7 separate regions of the Homo sapiens genome follow, and all the other regions are linked to region 1. Evidence: promoter capture Hi-C in 16 types of primary human blood cells and fetal thymus (Javierre and others, 2016). All regions are on one chromosome and are shown on one strand. The core of a region is centred on a gene start or on the middle of the fragment in contact, and the rest is flanking DNA. Distances in the headings are between cores, read along the strand shown.

Region 1 (2,748 bases), core at 16-2,515:
GACAACCCAAAATGTCTTCAGACACTGCTAAATAGAGGGGAAATCCATCCTTCCCCTTCTCTTGAGGTCTGCTCCACTGTAAAATTCTCTCGACTTCGCTTTACACTTGAATTTTTTCATAATAAATGTTGGAGGAAAAAATAAATTATGACATTGAAAAACGCTCATGAAACACTATGCAGAAGACGTAGTTTATGAAGACCTACAATACATACTGTCGTATTTTTGTTTAAAAAAAAAAAGTGGAGGGGAGACCTAGCAGTGATATTTAGTATTGCTAAATGTCAATGTTTACAAATCTTATCTATGACATTTCTAAAATGAATATTATAAAGTGTATTGCATATAGTTGGATTGGGAAGAAAAACATTTCTAATTATTCTCCTGTCAGCATCTCCTTCAAACTACCCTTTTATTAACAGGGATAGATATGCATTCACACGGTTCCTCCCAGCTTGGTTAATGGGCAAGAACACCTAAGATAGCCAAGGCCACCATGCATCCAGGCTCACATCTCCCTAATTGCCCTCCTCCATGATTCAGGGACAAGGAGGATCACCATCGTGTGGGAAGATACTAGAAATGTAGAATTTGGAACCCCACCCCTACCTACGGAATCCTGATCTGCACTTCAACAGGATCCCCGAACTATTCCTAGGCGCGTTCGAATTTGAGGAACATTAACGGACCAATTCTTTGTCCCTGAAAAGTGCCCGTTATAGAGGCGGCCGCTGGGAAATGACAACGGGGTTGGCATGGAGAGGTATTAAGTAGAAAAACTCCGGCCGGGCACGGTGGCTCAGGCCTGTAATCCCAGCACTGTGGGAGGCCGAGGCCGGTGGATCACCTGAGGTCAGGAGTTCGAGACCAGCCTGGCCAACATGGTGAAACCCCATTTCTACTGAAAAATACAAAAATTATCTGGGCATGGTGGTGGGCGCCTGTAATCCCAGCTACTCGGGAGGCTGAGGCAGGAGAATCGCTTGAACCCAGGAGGCGGAGGCTGCAGTGAGCCGAGATCGCGCCACTGCACTCCAGCTTGAGAGACACAGCGAGACTCCGTCTCAAAAAAAAAAAAAAGGAAGAAAGAAAGAAGAAGAAGAGAACTCTGCGACTGAAAAGTACCTAGCAGGGACAACGCATTCCCTACGTCCTTCCAAGTGCAGACACCAACACCGGCGGACGCGGCTCCCAACAGGCGAGCCCCAGCTTCCGGTCCGCGGCCTTGGACGCGCATGCGCCGCATGCTTTTTTTTTTTTTTTCCGGTAGGTCGCCAGCTGAGGCGGTTTGTAAGTTTTGGGTCGCAGTATGCTAGAATTTTGAGGCTCCCTTCTGATGAAAATTGAGCTGTCCATGCAGCCATGGAACCCGGGTTACAGCAGTGAGGGGGCCACGGCTCAAGGTGAGTCTCGCCTCAGCTAGCGCCAGTGGTGACCGCCACGGGGGTTTCCCACGCTGCAGCGCCCAGTGCAACCCTTTGGGAACGTGCCCGGCATGGCGGCCCCGGTTCCCCTCACTGCATGCGCCCATCGGTCGGCTCGGTCCTCGGCGTTGCTTCCCGGCTTCTGCAGCCCTGCTCCAGCCGGGGACCTCGCCCCGGGGGCAATCAGGGTGCGAGGGCGGCTGCGTGCTGGGCTTTCTTCCTGAGAGCGTCTTGGCTTGGGTCGCGGGGTACCCTGCTCTGTTCTTCAAAAAAAAATCTGCAAGGAAAAGATATTATTCCACTCAGAAATCTCAAGTTTCAGTCTGCGTTCTCTTAAATATATTTTATTTTTTAAAAAAATAATAAAGGCGAGCTCTTACTATGTTACCCAGGCTGATCTTGAACTCCTGGGCTCAAGCAGTCCCCCTTCCTCTGCCTCCCAAAGTGCTGGGATTACAGGCGTGAGCAATCGCGCCCGGCCACAGTCTATTATCTTACAGCATTCGCTGAAATCTTGAATCATAAAATTATCTTGAGGGTTTTTTGGAAGGACTGAAATCTCTTAAGCGAAAATAATTTGGCAGATAAATGACCTGTGACATCACTCCCGTAGTTGTCCGTTCAAGAGTCCCTCCGTCCCGTTCTTCTTTGCTAATCCCATTTCATCTTCGATACCTCCAATTCAATAGCACCCTCTCCCAACTTTACTCACTCCCTGGGAGACTTTAAACAAATATATAGTTCCAAATAAGTGTTGACTCCCAAGATTATATATCTAGCTGAGTCTCTCGTAGACTTCAAAACTATACATCTAACTGCCTGCTAGACCTCTCTATTTAACAGGTGTCTTAGTAGGCACTTCATTACTTGTGTCTAAAACCAAGCTTCAGCTCCCCATGACCATCAACGTCTAAATAAATGGCAGATCCATACTTTCAGTACCTTAAAGCCCCGGAGTCATTCTTCCGTGTCTCATGTAATTCATCTGTAAATCCTGTTGCCTCTGTTCTCTGCATGTATCCAGAACCTGAAGCTCACCAACTTGACCACTATAATCCTATCAAAGCCACCATCATCTCTCCCTAGTTATTGCGGTGTCTATATCTGGTCACCCCACTTTTCCTTTCACTTTTCTCCATAGCAGCAAGTGTGGGGATCTTCATAAGTCAAACCTCTCTTGTAGCTCTTACATGTCAGTCGGGATAAAATTCAAAATTCTGGCCATGCTTTACTAGTCCCAACATAAACTGCCCCACATTTCCTTACTAAACTCTTCTATTCCCCGTGTCCTCAGCTCACTGTGCTCTGGCCAGCTGTTCTAGCA
Region 2 (2,760 bases), core at 17-2,516, 440 kb before region 1:
AGATCAGTATTACAGAAAAGTGGACTTGGTTATTGTCACACTGTCTCTGTCACATCAAAGCTATCTCTCTTTTGCAAGAACCAGTTTTTTTCTGTACTGCACTTTTTCCCCGGCCACTACATGGAATGCTCTGAAGCACTGATCAATTAGGGAAATTGTTTTAATGAGGGAGGTTGATTTTGTCATGTATGCGTTATCTTTCTCTTTTCTTGACCACATTATCCTCTGGGAATCAGAATGCTAAGTTGTTATTGGGAGTCAATAACTGGCTTGAAATTACTCTGAGAAGTTCACCCCTACCAAACTGCTTCATGGCAAATTATTGCTTACCACCTAGCATCTGATACATATATACCAGAGGGCATGCACACATGCATGTATAGGATGGCAATTTGCTGTACTTTAAATTTATTCCTTTCTTCTCACCTTTCTCACATGCCATCAAATCCCCCATTTCCTAGATGGAATGCATCTTTCTAGATGAAAAGAAAAAACTCACTGATGAAATGAGTACTAATTCATTTGCCTCACTGGTCGAAGAAGCCAATTAATATATGAGAAACATCAGCTAGCTTAAAGAAACGTGGAGTGCAGATAAAGACTAAAGAACCACGGAGTCAACCAAGTAAAGTGCCAACTCAAAATGATAGCAAAGAACTAGATATCTAGTATGTGTTCAATAGATGGCTAAGGGTGAGTTTCCTGATATTCTAATTTACTCAGGAGCAATCTGAATTTTCTAAGAGGATATTTATAATAAATTCCTACTGGTAGACTTTAGGCTATTATGTAAGACAGTAAGAGGTTTTTTTTTTTTTTATTTTTGTGCCCATTAAATTGCATCATGTAGTTGATCATTTAACTTTGTCTAAATCCAAGTTTGACCTGTTCGTCTATGTTCCACATAATTGAAAAAAGTACTGGGAGTAAATGAGGGGGATTCTCAGATGTGCTTACTGAGTTATGTTGGTCTGGTAGATGCTGGAATGGAGAGTGAAAGTCTTCAACTTTTTTTGTCATTCTATCGAACCGACAGGATGGAGACAAGAAGTAATACTCACTTTGCAATTAATCACAATCTCATCAGGAAGACTCACCCCCAACCGGTTCATTAAAGGCAAATAGACTTCTTCCAAAGCCTTAGTTTTCCTTTCCATTATCAATCCGGGGAAGAATAAATGAGATTAAAAATGTAAAGCAAAAAGGAAGAACTGAATAAATCAGCCAAAAAATAATAGGATCTTTGGGAGAAAATAGTTTTTTACAAAAACGTTCAGAAAGAGTATAAAATAAATATCTGAGTGTAGAGATCTAAGTACATATACCCACACTGACATTAACACACATGTTCAGCAAACATCAATATTGATTATGCCTCTGGAAACTATTGACTGGTGGGAAAATCAATATATATCTTGATGTTGACCACAACAAAATCAATAATTGCTTCATAATTTACCAAGACTCATGGGATTTAATGAACCAGATAGCTATGAAGTAAAGCAAAATGATTGTACTTTCTCCCCAGCATACTGGATAAAGGATATAATACCAGCATTAGACATTGGTAGCCATACCTTGTGTCACCCCCCTAAACCCCATCTTTATTGAATGAAGCAAGTGAAACATCACCTTTCCCAGAATTGTGGATGACAACTCTGAAATTTGAGCAAGGAGAGAAGAGTAAGAGAAAGAAACCTCAGGGAAGACAACACTCACAAGAAAACTGATTCAGTGTCACAGATGAATGTGGGCATTTGTGCCTGTGAATTAAACAGCAGTCGCCTGCTGATAAATATCATTTATCCACTTTGTTAGGCCCCAGTATTGCATTATATTGATTGTACGTTCAGCCTTTTCTAGTTTTTCACTTATTTCCAGAGATTAATAAATGCAGGTTATTCAAATGCCATGACTATCTAAAATCCAATCCAAAGGGACTTTAGTGGCAGATTTAGAAAAAAAAAAATGCTGGTACTCTTCCTGTCCTTCTTTAGGATCCCCTCAATATTTGCATCTACTTAAGAAAAGCAGAAGTAAAAAGATGGCCAACACTCCGCAGTGCAGACACAATGATTCATCTGCATATTAGGAGCTGGGCCAATACGACCAGTCATTAAAATCTTTCAGTTTAAGTCCAAAACAGAGAAGCTCTATACACTGAACTGTAGGGATGTGTGTATGAATTGCCTGATAAATATGCAGAATGATGTTTCCCAGTGCTCCTAAATGATATTAATAAGTCGAGCTCTGCAAGGAAAAACAGAGGTCAAAGCAACCAACAGAGTAAGCCAAAAATGGGTTCCCATTAGAATAAATTTCTAATAATGAATTTCTCTAGAAAACTGCCAGACTACCTTTATCTAAAACTATAGAAAAAGATCTGGTTCCCATTTTGTAGGGTCTACACAGGGAAATAATAAGTGAACAAATGTGGGCTGAAAGCATAATGGCTAATAATATTTCCCAGAAGAGAAGAAAGAGGTGAGCTGTGTCTTTACAGACATTGCCAATAGGTAAGAGAGGGCACAGAAACTCAAAGAAGCCTTAGATTTACTGAATGTAAGAGAAGGAAGAGGAGAAAAGAGATGTAGATACAAGATTAAAGATTATAAATAAAATTACCATAAGTGACCCCAATTTACCAATCATTTGAAGTGGTTCTAAGAGCAAGATTGTTTCATATTGCCTAAGTTTATGGCAAGGAGCATCAGTGATGTTACACTTTTCAAATGTATCATAACTTACGCATTTCAGAAA
Region 3 (2,700 bases), core at 27-2,526, 390 kb before region 1:
GTATGAGAAATTGAAGGCTCTCCCTTGTCCCAGCTTCCTTAAAGAGTTCCTTAAAGAGTTCATGTTACCACTAAACAGAGTCCCCCTGTTCTTCTAACTGTCATTTCTCACGTTATGGGATGTACATCAGGGCCTCATCATTATTCTCTTTCATATACCTGGACCTTATTACATAGGAGCTCAAAGTCTAGCTCTTTACATTTCTCTTAATCTTCTTTGATACTAAGTGAGGCAACAACAACAACAAAAAGATAGTATAGGCCATTTTATTTTACTTTATTGAGACAGGGTCTTGTTCTGTTGCCCAGGCTGGGGCAGTGGCTTGATCAAGGTTCAATGAAGCCTCAAATTCCTGGGCTCAAGAGATCCTCCAGCCTCAGCCTCCTGAGTAGCTTGGATGACAGGTGTGTGACACCACATATGACTAATTTATATATATATATATATATATATATATATATATATATATATATATATACACACATACAGACAGTGGTCTCCCTATATTGCCTAGATTGGTCTCAAACTCCTGGGCTCAAGTGATTCTCCCCACTCATCCTCCCAAAGTGCTGAGACTACAGGCATGAGCCACCACGTCTGGCCCATGTAGGTCTTTTTAAATAGCCCTGAGCTTCTCAAGCCCCTACACCCCTCCCAAGTAGGAGAAAGGAAAACCTAAATGATTAAATTTGATCTCCTGAGGCCACATGAAAACGGACCCTCGAAAATTCACTGTACTTAGGAAACTCATGGACAGGTTATCAAACCTCAAGTAGCAAAGTCCCTGTAGAGTTTCCTTGGACTTCTACATTTTCTTGCAACAAATAATACATTTAAAGGTCAATGGATCTCATTCTTTATCAACCAAGAAAATATGTTTGCAGAATCTAAAATCTCATCTAGAGTTAAGATCAACATTTTTTTTTCTTCTGGTCCTTTCATTTATTTCTTTAAAATTGTCTTATCATTACTATGTAAGCTTGTACCTGAATTACAGCTTTTAATAAAGCAATGACACTTTTATTTCTCAGATGCCTGATGACCATATTAACCTCTCCTCATTTGAGTTATTAATTGCACGTTCTGTCCAATCCCTTTGGTGTGGCTTCCAAGGAGACAGTCAGAAGGCTTCTCAGGAAGGGAAGGACATGTTTATTGTTGGCCCTGTGGGAGTGTTTGCATAATTACTGGAATGATTAAAGAGGTCTTTTCTAAAACAGACAAGCATACTAAGTTTTAATATGTTTCATGACAATGCATAAGACAAGAGTGCATGTTGTACCTGATATAGGACCCTGCAGGTCGCCAAAATAAATAAATACGTGTAGAGGTGCTGGAATGAATTCAGTCATGGATATAAACAGAAATTTCAAGGGGAAATGAGCTTTGATTCTTGATGAGAGAATTGTTTGTGATCAGAATGAGGACAGCTGTACAGCAAAGGTGACAAAGAGCCTGGGGACATGAAGTCTTAAATAGTTTGCTCTAATCCCATGTTGTAAAGATGGCTTAATGTGAGGGAGGGGGTAGCAGGAAGAGTTTTGATGAATCCTGAGACTGGAGTTAAAGCTTTTCTAATTTGGCTCACTGGTATTTAATCTTATAACTGTGCATCCTTAATCAAAACTCAGAGGGACTCTTTAATCTTGTGTGTATAAAATGAAAGATGATTAGAGTCCCCTGACCTGCCTGTGAGTTCCAGCTGTTTCCTTCTTTTCTATTTCCTAGGCTCTTCATATCTCCCACTAGCTGGAGTTACATTAATAGAAAAAACAGCATCCCGAAATTGTAGGAGAATAAATATGAAGAACACATTCATTCATTCATTTTTTTCTTTTGGTGGTTAATGGCATCTATTATGTGGAAGGCATTGTTTTACATATTAATATACAGCATGAACAAGAACGACATATCTATTTGTACAGACTGCATTTTAGAATCTAACTAGGACTTTTTCACCATTTCTTGGCTAAGTAAGCAAATGCAAGTGATTCAGGAAAATAAATATGATTTTAAGGAGTAAATAATTATGTAGAAAAATTCTTCTGTTTCAGATGACTGCAAGGTGCAAATTGTTTACTGAAGAAATTCATCATATAGCTGGTCAAGTGTTTGGATTCTGTTAGAAGATTGAGAACAAGGTGATAAAATGCATCATTCCAGCATCACAGGATTTTGATGACCAGACAAAGGCTTTGAATTGTGCCTGATGTATTTTTTTAATGCACAGTAAATAGGACTCCAGGGCCAACTCCCCCGACCCACACCACATCCTAAGCAAGACCTTTATAGAGAACTGTCCCTGGGGGAAACCTTTTCCCTTGATCGAAATCCTAGCATATCCAGGTAATACTTCACTACTATTCCCACTCTTTTTTTTTTTTTTTTTTTTTTTTTTGAGACAGTCTCACTCTGTCACCCAGGCTGGAGCGCAATGGCATTATCTCGGCTCACTGCAACCTCTGCCTCCCAGGGTCTGAGCAATTCTCCTACCTCAGCCTCTGGAGTATCTGGGATTACAAGTATGTACCACCATGCCCAGCTAAGTTTTGTATTTTTACTAGAGATGTAGTTTCACCATGTTGGCCACACTGGTCTTGAACTCCTGACCTCAAGTGATCAGCCCACCTTGGTCTCCCAAAATGCTGGGATTGCAGGTGTGAGCCACTGCACCCAGCCTTATTGCCACTTTAAAAAGCT
Region 4 (2,700 bases), core at 161-2,660, 350 kb before region 1:
TTTGAAAACAGACTAATACACTATCCTCAATGCCTTTCTAATTCTACCCATTGTACATGGATTGGACTCCTCAATGCCAACTCCATTCATGAAATACTTTCCAAGCCCTTTCATACCCAGCATGTACAAATTGTCCCCAGCACCTTCTTAACAAGTATGTCTGAATAACAGAAAACTACAATAATAATGCATGTCAGAATTATATGATGTAAAGATGTGTCTGTCACTGCTACCAGCTCTATCTATACCTCTTTCTCTGTAATCCTTATAACCATCTGACACATTAGGTCACATAGCTATTTAGCGGTGGACTTGAGCTTCGAATCCAGGTGTTCTTGGGAAACTTGCAGATCATAGAGAAGCATGAACACAAAGAATAAGTGTGGCCTTCCAGTGGTGGGGGCAGGGTGTCATGAGACACAGAGCAGTGGTAGGTCTTATGCAGAGCCTCTTTAGGGTTTTACACCACTGGTAGAAGAATCTGTCTCTAGACCGAAGAGTTCAAACCGAGAGACTTCTTGCTTTCTCACAAAGACAGGCTTCTGGCCATTTAGCTGCTGGGCTTTTCATCAGCCTTGAGGAATGAGAGACCTTTGTGGAGCTCTTGTTTCTAGGCGTGAGAGCAGGGGAGAGGCTGAAAAGCATCTGACATTCCTGGCGTCCCATTCTCTAGACAAGAGGGGACACTCATAAGGGCCTAAATACCTGTCCAAAGGCTTCAGTCACAATCCCTACTCTGTAAGGAAAATCTTGGCATCATTTCATCCCATACAACTAAGAAGAAAGATATATATCATGATAGCATATGGATGTGTTAACCATCTTCCCCCATTTTCACGTTTTAAGAATTTTAGGGCCGTGCATGGTGGCTCACGCCTGTAATCCCAGCACTTTGGGAGGCTAAGGCTGGCAGATCACAAGGTCAGGAGATCGAAACCATCCTGGCCAACATGGTGAAACCCCCGTCTCTACTAAAATACAAAAAATGAGCCAGGCGAGGTGGTGTGCGCTTGTAGTCCCAGCTACTCGGGAGGCTGAGACAAGGGAATTGCTTGAACCCAGGAGGCAAAGGTTGCAGTGAGCCAAGATCATGCCACTGCACTCCAGCCTGGCGACAGAGCAAGACTCTGTCTCCAAAAAAAAAAAAAAAAATTTTAGGTCTGGGGTGAGTTGGAGTATTGCTGAGGAGAACCTTTCTCAAGGGCAGGGCTCTCGGAGATCATGTTCTCATGGGTCCCCGGGACCGGTCCTCAGGCTCGCTAGTTTAAGGTGAGTGGAGTGGTCTCTAGGAGCAGAGCATGATAACAACGCTAGGTCACTCATTTACAACGGACTGTAATAAACTACCTTTTTCCTTCCACCAGGGGGCACCATTCACATAGACTTCAACAGCAGTGGCATCAACAGGCCTACAAAGTGGTGGTGGTAAAAAACACACTTGAGACCATCATATGTATCTGAAATCAGATACGATACCTGAAAAACATAAATCAAATTAATGCTCATATGGTTGCTTGCTGTCCAAGGAATTCAAAGCAAAGGTGGAAACTGACCCTTACATCACTTCTTCCTTCTAGATGAATAGCATCAGCTACATTTTCTTTCCCATTATGTAATGTTTCTATTCTGACCACCCACCTGTGATGGACATAGTCTTTTTAGATGTGTTAGTTTTAATATTAGTCAAGACTTAGTCTCAACCGTTCTCTATTAAGTGACTTTGCAGATATCTGATGTCATCTCCATTAATGCAGATTTTCATGTCAGATTCAGCTCTGAGTTCACCTTAATGCGGTGGTGGTTCCCATAGTGTAGTGCCCAGGCCCCCGCATCAACATCACTTGGGAACTTGTTAGAAAGGCAAGTTCCTGGTTCCCAACTCAGACCTACCTACCAAGTCAGAAATCTAAGTGTGGGGCCTGCAATCTGTGTTTTTACAAGCCTAACAGGGGATACTAATGCATGCTAAAGTTTGAGAACCACTGACTTAATATACAGTTTCCAACCCGGATGACACTAGAAACAACTACGGGACTTTACAAAAATATGGGTGTCCTGGCTTCCCCCAGAGCCACTAGGGTAGTGGAAACAAATGTCACTATCAAATGGATCTGGGTTTGAATTCTGGTTTTGTCACTCACCAGCTATGTGCCTTGTGGAGGCTCCATCTTCTCATCTGTAAAGTAAAAGTCATCGGACCTGCCTTGTAGGAAGGTGTAGGAGGGGAAGGTTCAGCAAATGCCTCATAGAGAGATTGACTCATAGTACATCTTCTTCCTTGGCCTCCACCGCAACTAGAATCTTATTCACCCGGCCTGTGAGGGTACAGTTCTCACCTTGCCCCAGAATCACCAGGTGAGAATGATTTGCTAGACCCGCTTTCTGAAGTTTCACAAATGGACAAACATTTTCACAGCTGTTACTGGGATTTTGCCATAAATCAGCAGGAACACACCCGAGATCTGACAAAGCTATTTCAAACTCTAGATCAATGAGGAGGGAAGTTGCTATGAAGCCGGGTTTGCCAACTGAGAGCATTGTAATTGTTCGAGTTGCTCTTGGGATCTAGCTCAGATTCCTGCTGACACCAGAGAAGTGAAGAATGAAAATAGTTGCCTAGAAAATCAGAAGCAGCTCCCCAAGTTACCTGCCACATACAGGTTTGTTTTTCCTTAATTATCTAGGTAATTGCTTTGCTTC
Region 5 (2,700 bases), core at 35-2,534, 480 kb before region 1:
GTGGTGATGAGTGGGTTTGTATATGTGGGCTCCCTAGGAATTCTCAGTGTCCATATACAGTCCACAGTCATCATATTGATATAATTAGGTGCCCTATGTGAGATTACTCTTTTCGTCTTTAGCAACAGCAATTTTAGCATCTTTTTATGTGGACAGGGACAAAACATCACCTTGGGTCAGATCTCAAGAAGGCCCTTTGGGTTTCACAGATGAATGACAGGCAACCCCAGAGCACATCATTTGCCTCTCAGTCTGCCAAGAGAGACCTCTAGCTATGCTTGATGTATGTAAAATATATTCTTTTATGTTAATTACGCTTTCACATATAACACAGTGTTATTTAAAAGATGTGTAGTTTACATGTATTGATATTTCTAGACAGGTATAGAAAAGAGGAGATGGAATTTGTGATACACTATGAAATGGATCACCAAGGGAAAATTTTCACAAATAGAATGGATTGCGGTTCCTGAAGGTAGTAATTCTTGCCTACTTGCTTCATGGGCTTGTTAAGAGAATGAAAATCAAAATGAGATCAGACAAATGAAAACACGATCAAGATTTCAGAAATTGAAAATAACACTATCATTATTATTTTTAATTAAAGTCCTTTATATGGGAATTACATACTTGAGCTGCAAACTCGGTGACCTGGCCCTCAGGTGCACAGAAAAGTTCTGATTAAAATTTTAATAACCATCTTATTACAGGTAGAAGGTTTCTCAACAGTGAAATAACAAACGGCCATGGTAGTTGGATTCTACTATTCCCAGGCTTCCCCATTCTAGGCCCTGTTCCCCCAAAACACTTTCAACACAAACACATTCACACACACACACACCCATACACTTCACAGGTGTCCAGGGGCATCCTTCTGTCTTATGAGAGCAGCCCTCAAGATAATGCCTTGGTGAGTTTAGAATATTTTTGTTTGTTTGTTTGTTTGGTTTGGTTTGGTTTTTTGAGACAGAGCTTCTCTCTTGTTGCCCAGGCTGGGGTGCAATGGCGCGATCACAGCTCATTGCAACCTCCGCCTCCTGGGTTCAAGTGATTCTCCTGCCTCAGCCTCCCAAGTAGCTGAGATTACAGGCACCCACCACCATGCCCACCTAATTTTTTTGTATTTTAGTAGAGACGGGGTTTCACCATGTTGGTCAGGCTGGTCTCAAACTCCTGACCTCAGGTAATCCACCCGCCTCAGCCTCCCAAAGGAGTTTAGAATCTTTACAACAAGAAAAGAGAAACCTTTTTGTCTTCTTCTTAGAATCTCTTTGAATAAATTTTTGAAAGTATTCTAGTATTCTTTAATCTGTTTCTCAAACTAGCACAGATCATCCTATTTTACCTTTTCTTTCAATTGATTTCTTTAAAAAAAAAGCCCCCCCCCACAAAAATATTCATGATTGATGAAAAAAGGCACCATGATACGGTTGTTGTGCATGGACCTGCCTGTCAGCAATGACCACAGCTCACCTGAGAGTAAGATTACAAAATCACAAACAGAAAATGACTTTTATAATCAGCCTCCAAAGCTAATGCCCAATATATGGTACTTTCTGCTAAAGCTCCTGGAAATCTTCCCACATGCTCTACATCTGCATTTGCAGACCCTCTACCAGGAGCTAAATTTATCCTCTGTTTAGTGTTTTATTGGATTTAAAAGAGCTAAACAGAGAGTTTTAAATCTAGGGGGGATATTTGATGAAATAAAAACTGGTGAAAACAAGGACAACTGGTGAAAAATGGACAAGAGGGTTTTACAGATCCTCCATCTTCCTAAATGTCCATCCCTTCCAGACTTCTCCCCTCAATTCTTGTGCACCTACTCTGAACTCAACATGTGTCAGATACTGAGGGCATATGGAAATATGATAAACCAGATTTCCATACTTTAGGGAACTTAGAATCTATTTGAAGAAGTAAGACTAGCACAGGAACAATTAGTTCTCAAAATATATCAGTTAGATGAAGAATTTGGTGAATTTTAAGTGCCTTAAAATATCACCAAAAGGAAGCTCAGTGTGAACTCCCAGAGTAATCTGGCAAAGTACAAGATGAAGTGAGGGACATCAGATGAGTCTTGAAAATTGGGAAGCAGCCCGGGCACAGTGGCTCAGGCCTGTAATCCCAGCACTCTGGGAGGCCGAGGCGGACGGATCACCTGAGGTCAGGAGTTCGAGACCAGCCTGGCCAACATGGAGAAACCCTGTCTTTACTAAAAATACAGAAATTAGCTGGGCGTGGTGGTGGTAGCCTGTAATTCCAGCTACACGGGAGGCTGAGGCAGGAAGAATTTCTTGAACCCAGAAGGCAGAGGTTGCAGTGAGCCAAGATTGTGCCACTGCACTCCAGCCAGGAGTCTAATTATTAGGAGTCTAATTATTAGGCCATTGCAAGTCATCTGGGAGAGAAGCAGTGGTAGCATGGAGTAAGATTGTGGCAGTGGGAACAAAAACAAGTGGATGTATGGCAGAGCTGTCTAGAAGGCAAAGCCAACAACAGTGGTGTTTGGCTGCAAGAGAAAGAGAGGGAATGGTCAAGGGTGACAACCCAGATGATTGACAAGTGGGAGGATGGTGATTACCAATCCCTGAAACAAGAGCGAGGGCAACAGAGTGAGGCTCTGTCTAAATAAATAAATAAATAAAGTACTGTTATAACTGTAAGTTTATTTCAAATTCTAAGGTGATAACTATTTTA
Region 6 (2,700 bases), core at 1-2,500, 410 kb before region 1:
GAACCAAGGATTGGAACTAGGAACTGAGGCAGGAAATAGGGTCTGGAGGCAGGGAACCTAAGGACTTCCTAGAACTAAATTAAATGGAAAAACCCCAACCCAGCCTTCTAAGTCCAAGTAAATAACTTTGTAACTCTACTTCAGCTATGACAGGAAACATCCTCTTCTTTGCATAGGGTGTACACATCCACTTTGCATAGGGTGTACACATCCACTTTGCATAGGGTGTACACATCCACTTTGCATAGGGTGTACACCAAGTAAATAACTTTGTAACTTCACTTTAGCCTCTTCATCTGCATAGGATGGTACACTAAGTAACCAATGGAAACCTCTAGAGAGAATTTAAACTCCAGAAAATTCTGTAACCAGGCCCTTGAGCCGTATGCTCGGCCCACTCCTACCTTGTGGAGTATGTTTCTGATTTCAATAAATCTCTGCTTTAGTTGCTTCATTCTTTCTTTCTTTGTACGTTTTGTCCAATTTATGTTCAAGACACCGAGAACCTGGACACCCTCCACCGGTAGCAGAACCAGCAAATAAAATTGGCATCCCCAAGGATCAAGGCTGAGAGAGGAAATAATAACCTAAAAATTAATCCAAGGATGATCACATCATAAAGGCCACTTCGCCTTTGAACATGCCATTTAGACTAAGGTCAATTTAAACATTAGCCTAAAGGTTAGTAAAGGGGTGCTAGAACAATAAAAAACAGGAAGACAAGACCAGCACAGTCCAGGGACAACAGGACCAGACCTACTGGACCTTAGGCTGACTTCTAAGCATCCCCAGCAAGTGCCCAACATAGACAGAACTAGAGGGAAAAAAAAGAAAACACTAACAAAAGAAGTAGGGAACAGCCATGGAAGGAATCTAGAAAGGACGCTACCAGAATGTATATGTAGCCTTGTTTACAATTCAGTGAATTCTAGAGACAATCGCTGTATTAGTCTGTTTCCACACTGCTGATAAAGACATACCCGAGACTGGTTAATTTATAAAGAAAAAGAGGTTTAAGGGACTCACAGTTCCATGCAGCTGGGGAGGCCTCACAATCATAGTGGAACGTGAAACGCACATCTTTCATGGTGGCAGACGAGAGAGAATGAAAACCAAGTGAAAGGGATTTCCCCTTATAAAACATTCAGATCTCGTGAGACTTATTCACTACTTCAAGAACAGCATGGGGGAAATCACCCCTATGATTCAATTAACTCTGATTAGGTTCCTCCCACAACACGTGGGAATTATGGGAGCTACAATTCAAGGTGAGATTTGGATGGGGACACAGCCAAACCATATCAATTACTTGAGTATATTTTGAGATTCATTCTCTGAGATCTGTTACTTTCGTCAATCTATGTGTTTTCCCATAGTTCTTAGCAATATAAATAAATAACAATGAAAGAGAGTTGTTAGGCATGCCTCAAATACAGCAGGGAAGGAGGAAGCTAAGAAAAATATATATATAAGAGGAATGTGAGGAGGTAGCCGGGCAGAGGAATGTAAACAACTGCAATTGGAAAAGAAACAAGCAGGAGCAAATATCCGAGGGATTGGCAAACTGGTTCTCTGGCAGATTAGCCTGCAGGAAAGTTCCAAGGCCCTCATCATTTCTCTGAAGTCTGGGATCAGTATCTTTCAGAGGAATGGTTTTTCTTAGAAAATGCACACTCCCACATCAGGCATCTCATTAACTTGTGGATTTGCTACAGATTATTTCTCTGCTCTTACGGCAATTTTTAAGCCTCTGAACTTTATCTTATTGTTAGTCATGATTTGATGTGGAATTATAAGCCCCATTAAAATGATTTAAATCTCTTAGAAAAGACCAAAAGCTGCAGTTCTGTCTGTGATAAGACCACTTGAAGATAACAACCATAATTGTCCAGAGTAACTAAACAATCCCTCGCTTGTGGATAAATAAGTCTTGGTATAATCGATCTTTCAGGGATGCTAATCATTCTGTCAGAATCATTGTTGGTTTTGTATTTCCCCAGCAATGATGAACCATCTAACTTAGATCGTATTTCCCATAGATGTCATATCATCTATGGGATATAGATGGAAGATCATAAAACCTTAGTGCTAAAAGATGATCTAATTTAACCTGTCAATTGTATAACTAACCCAACACTCAGAAGAGAAATTAAGTGACTTATCCAAGATCATACAGTTCAGTAGAATTCCATTGACCTAGGGCATCAATTAAATGCTTAACACTTGGTTAATTCAAAAAGTGATAAAATTCAGAGATGCCATATGTTGAACTACATGCATTCTATTTTTCTATTCCTGCATTAGTGTAATGCCTCTTTGTAATGACCAAAATAACAAGTTTATTGAGGCACAGATAGGTAGTTGCATGTTTATGGATTTACAGTGTAACAGAAAGGACCCAGAGCTATTAAAAATCCCTAGACATGTGCCCCAATGCCTGGAAGCCCACAAGGAGCTATTCATTTCTGTTGATTTTTCATACTTCTGAGTGATACATATTAAAAACCCTCAAGATTGTCTGCTACTGGGAAACTCACATAACTTTCTTGAGCATTGGTTTTAATATTATTTTTTACAATATTGGAAAATAGACCTTTAAGCTACCCCCAAGTTATAAATGCAATGGGAATGATGCTCAGATAGGCAAAAATAACAACAATGACTATTCATCCATTCTAGGATGCCCATCAAAGGCCATCA
Region 7 (2,700 bases), core at 2-2,501, 370 kb before region 1:
ATAAGTGGGAGCTGAACAATGAGAACACATGGGCACAAGGAGGGGAACAACACACATTGGGGCCTGTTTGGGGAGTGGGGGAGGGGGAGGGAGAGCATCAAGATAAATAGCTAAGGCGTGAGGGGCTTAGTATCTAGATGACGGGTTGATAGGTGCAGCAAACCACCATAGCACATGTATACCTATGTAACAAACCTGAATGTTCTGCACGCGTATCCTGGAACTTAAAATAAAATTAAATTAAAATATTTAAAAGAGAGCATGGGGCCTTGCAAACAATATGAGACTAAGGAAAAAGGGAACAACAACTATAGACTCAGAGACAGAACCAATCTCTGAAAATTATCTACTGAAAGAACCAGAATTAAGCTGTAGGAAACTAGGTGCTTTCAACGGGCCACAAGACAGCCTGGCTTCTTCAAGGAGTCACAAAAAGTGAATAGGTTGACATGAACTCAAGAAGAGATGAAAAGATGAAATTAAATTAAATCTCAAGCTGAGATTTTAAAATCATAATAATAACACACTACTTACTAAAAGGAGGCAGATGATGTGCGCAGGAAGGGCAGAGGAGAGAGACTGAAAGAATAATAGCAGGGAAAAAGAGCACATGAAAAGCAGATGTCACCATGACAAATCAAAGGCATCTGGTGAAGGGCAAATTTCAGAACCTTTTAAAAGAAAAGGGAAAAACAAAGATACAAGTGACGAGCAAGATGATGATCTTGAAGGAGAGTTTGGAAAGCCAACTAAATAATTTAGTGTCTTTCTTAGGAGAATACCAAGATAATTACAAGCAAAGCAATAACCAAAATCATCAACAAAGAAAATGTATTTGAGCTGAAAAAGCCTTAACTGTGCAAGCAAAAAGACTCACTCCCCATGATCCACAAAATAAATAGATGAATATATAAATTACACATAAAGCATTCTGAAACTATTTTATAACTACAAAACAGAAAGACATCTTGTAAACATTCACTTGGAAAAAACCTGGTCACTAAGAAAAAACGAAGTCAAGATGATCTTATACTTCCATATAGCATTAAGTTTCAAACATACACACACAGGAAATGTTTACAGAGTTTTAAGGAAAACAATGTGGAACGTAAGAATTTTCAATTCAGACAACAGGAAAAATATTTTTAAACACCTAAGATCTTATATACGGGCTTATAATAATACCTTTCTTGGGAAAAAAAAAATCCTAAAAATGTCTTTAAGAAAAGAAAGAAAGAGGCCAGGTGCCGTAGGTCATGCCTGTAATCCCAACACTTTGGGAGACCGAGGCAGGCAGATCATTTAAGGGCAGGAATTTGAGACCAGTCTGGCCAACATGGTGAAATCCCCTCTACTAAAAATACAAAAATTAGCTTGGCGTGGTGGTGCACGCCTGTAATCCCAGCTATTCCAAAGGCTGAAGCCTGAGAATTGCTTGAACCGGGAGGTGGAGGTTGCAGTGAGCCCAGACTGCGCCACTGCACTCCAGCCTGAGTAACAGAGTAAAACCCTGTCTCAAATTAAAAAAAAAAGAGAGATGGAAAGAAAAATTAAGATCACAAGCCTGAGAGCATTGTATTAGAAAATAAATAGTATCAAGAACTGAAATTATTACTGTGGTGAATTTAATCTAAATAAGCATTAATACAAACACAAATACAAATGATACAAAGTAAACTTAAAAAGAAAAAATACATGAAATTCTTATAAATAATGTAAGAGTAATTACATGGGTTGTATTAGCAAAGTCTAGCATGGTAGAAGACAAATATAAAAGTGCAATAAATTTATCATGCTATTTCAAATGAGGACAAATGATCAAATTCCTTGATAACTAAAGAAAAATGTGTTAAAGAATGTATCTTTAAAATTTAAAGTCAATTACTAGAAGACTCTGAGGAGGATATGTAACTTCCACATCATGAGAAACTGAAACAAACAAAATATGGCTCAAAATCAGAAAATATAAGACAATAAAAACTGCGAAGTAGAGTAAAAATACAAACTATTAAATAACATGATATTGAAATAGCTAAGATAAACTAAATTAATAGTGGCTTTAAAACATGTGGTTTTGATTTCTTATTTTAAAAAATCCAGAATTAGACCATTTTGTGGTTCGTAAGTGTGATGATTGGGTTTGCATGCTCATGAGTGAGACGTGCCTCCCTCAAACCTTGTTACATCATTAGCACATTAAATATCTGACATAAAAAAGTGGGGGAAAGTCAGAAGCAGGCAGTCTGGGCGGACATAGAAGTTCCACAGTCACTGGGGACCCCAGATATGCTGAGCTTCCTGCATTGCTATACTAGTGTGTGTGGTCCTTTGCCAATATGGATTCTCCAGCTAAAAATATGATGTCTGGAATTTACCCTGCAGAAAGGAAAAAGGAGAAAGATGCATAATACCTACCCTCCAAGTATACTTTCTGGAAGTTATACCTATGACTTCAGCCTTCATCCATTATTTGTAACTCAGTCATATGCCAAACATTCCACAAAAGAGCATGGAAAATTAATAACGACCATTCAGGAGGGCCTCTGGTCTTTGCGCAGCTAAAAATTGAGGATTCCCATCTTTATTCAAATAATTTTAGCAGATCAAATTAGGGAGAAAAAGTGTGTAAAGAGCAATGTTCTTTGGAAAAACCAATTAATTTTCAACCATGAAAAAATGAAAACAGGTAAGTGCTAGAAG

Evidence for each region. Contacts are between HindIII fragments. The CHiCAGO score rates a contact against its expected background, and 5 or more counts as called.
Region 2: a contact is called between a fragment that was not itself captured here and the fragment with the promoter of RWDD2B in region 1, in 6 of 17 cell types (naive CD4 T cells, non-activated CD4 T cells, total CD8 T cells and 3 more). The highest score is 9.2, in naive CD4 T cells.
Region 3: a contact is called between a fragment that was not itself captured here and the fragment with the promoter of RWDD2B in region 1, in 3 of 17 cell types (neutrophils, naive B cells and M0 macrophages). The highest score is 14.9, in neutrophils.
Region 4: a contact is called between the fragment with the promoter of BACH1-IT2 here and the fragment with the promoter of RWDD2B in region 1, in 12 of 17 cell types (neutrophils, naive B cells, total B cells and 9 more). The highest score is 21.1, in neutrophils.
Region 5: a contact is called between a fragment that was not itself captured here and the fragment with the promoter of RWDD2B in region 1, in 1 of 17 cell types (neutrophils). The highest score is 5.6, in neutrophils.
Region 6: a contact is called between a fragment that was not itself captured here and the fragment with the promoter of RWDD2B in region 1, in 3 of 17 cell types (naive CD4 T cells, activated CD4 T cells and non-activated CD4 T cells). The highest score is 7.0, in naive CD4 T cells.
Region 7: a contact is called between a fragment that was not itself captured here and the fragment with the promoter of RWDD2B in region 1, in 1 of 17 cell types (neutrophils). The highest score is 7.9, in neutrophils.

Annotation. Positions count from the first base shown.
Region 1 is chr21:29,017,866-29,020,613 of GRCh38, reverse strand. It overlaps RWDD2B (RWD domain containing 2B), which reads left to right and starts at 1,265. Exons shown (of 5, transcript NM_016940.3): 1 at 1,265-1,403. The coding sequence starts at 1,337. LOC124905005 (a long non-coding RNA gene) reads right to left here. Exons shown (of 2, transcript XR_007067836.1): 1 at 2,367-2,748; 2 at 1-1,701. RefSeq lists an enhancer at 1,175-1,424. The HindIII fragment of the contact is 4,408 bases long and covers 1-2,310 here.
Region 2 is chr21:29,453,022-29,455,781 of GRCh38, reverse strand. All of the region lies in intron 1 of LOC107985486 (a long non-coding RNA gene), which reads right to left. Among named protein-coding and RNA genes, the nearest start is that of BACH1-IT3, 42 kb to the left of the region's middle. The HindIII fragment of the contact is 2,995 bases long and covers 1-2,760 here.
Region 3 is chr21:29,408,719-29,411,418 of GRCh38, reverse strand. No RefSeq gene overlaps it. Among named protein-coding and RNA genes, the nearest start is that of BACH1-IT2, 38 kb to the right of the region's middle. The HindIII fragment of the contact is 590 bases long and covers 982-1,571 here.
Region 4 is chr21:29,371,211-29,373,910 of GRCh38, reverse strand. It overlaps BACH1-IT2 (BACH1 intronic transcript 2), which reads right to left and starts at 1,410. Exons shown (of 2, transcript NR_046564.2): 1 at 1,348-1,410; 2 at 1-669. The HindIII fragment of the contact is 7,280 bases long and covers 1-2,700 here.
Region 5 is chr21:29,492,949-29,495,648 of GRCh38, reverse strand. It overlaps LOC105372770 (a long non-coding RNA gene), which reads left to right. Exons shown (of 4, transcript XR_007067840.1): 2 at 157-283; 3 at 379-475. Among named protein-coding and RNA genes, the nearest start is that of BACH1-IT3, 1.7 kb to the left of the region's middle. The HindIII fragment of the contact is 5,698 bases long and covers 1-2,700 here.
Region 6 is chr21:29,432,696-29,435,395 of GRCh38, reverse strand. It overlaps LOC107985486 (a long non-coding RNA gene), which reads right to left and starts at 1,107. Exons shown (of 2, transcript XR_001754998.2): 1 at 1,027-1,107. The HindIII fragment of the contact is 6,796 bases long and covers 1-2,700 here.
Region 7 is chr21:29,388,897-29,391,596 of GRCh38, reverse strand. It overlaps LOC124905071 (small nucleolar RNA U13), which reads left to right and starts at 2,107; the gene lies at 2,107-2,210. The HindIII fragment of the contact is 7,052 bases long and covers 1-2,700 here.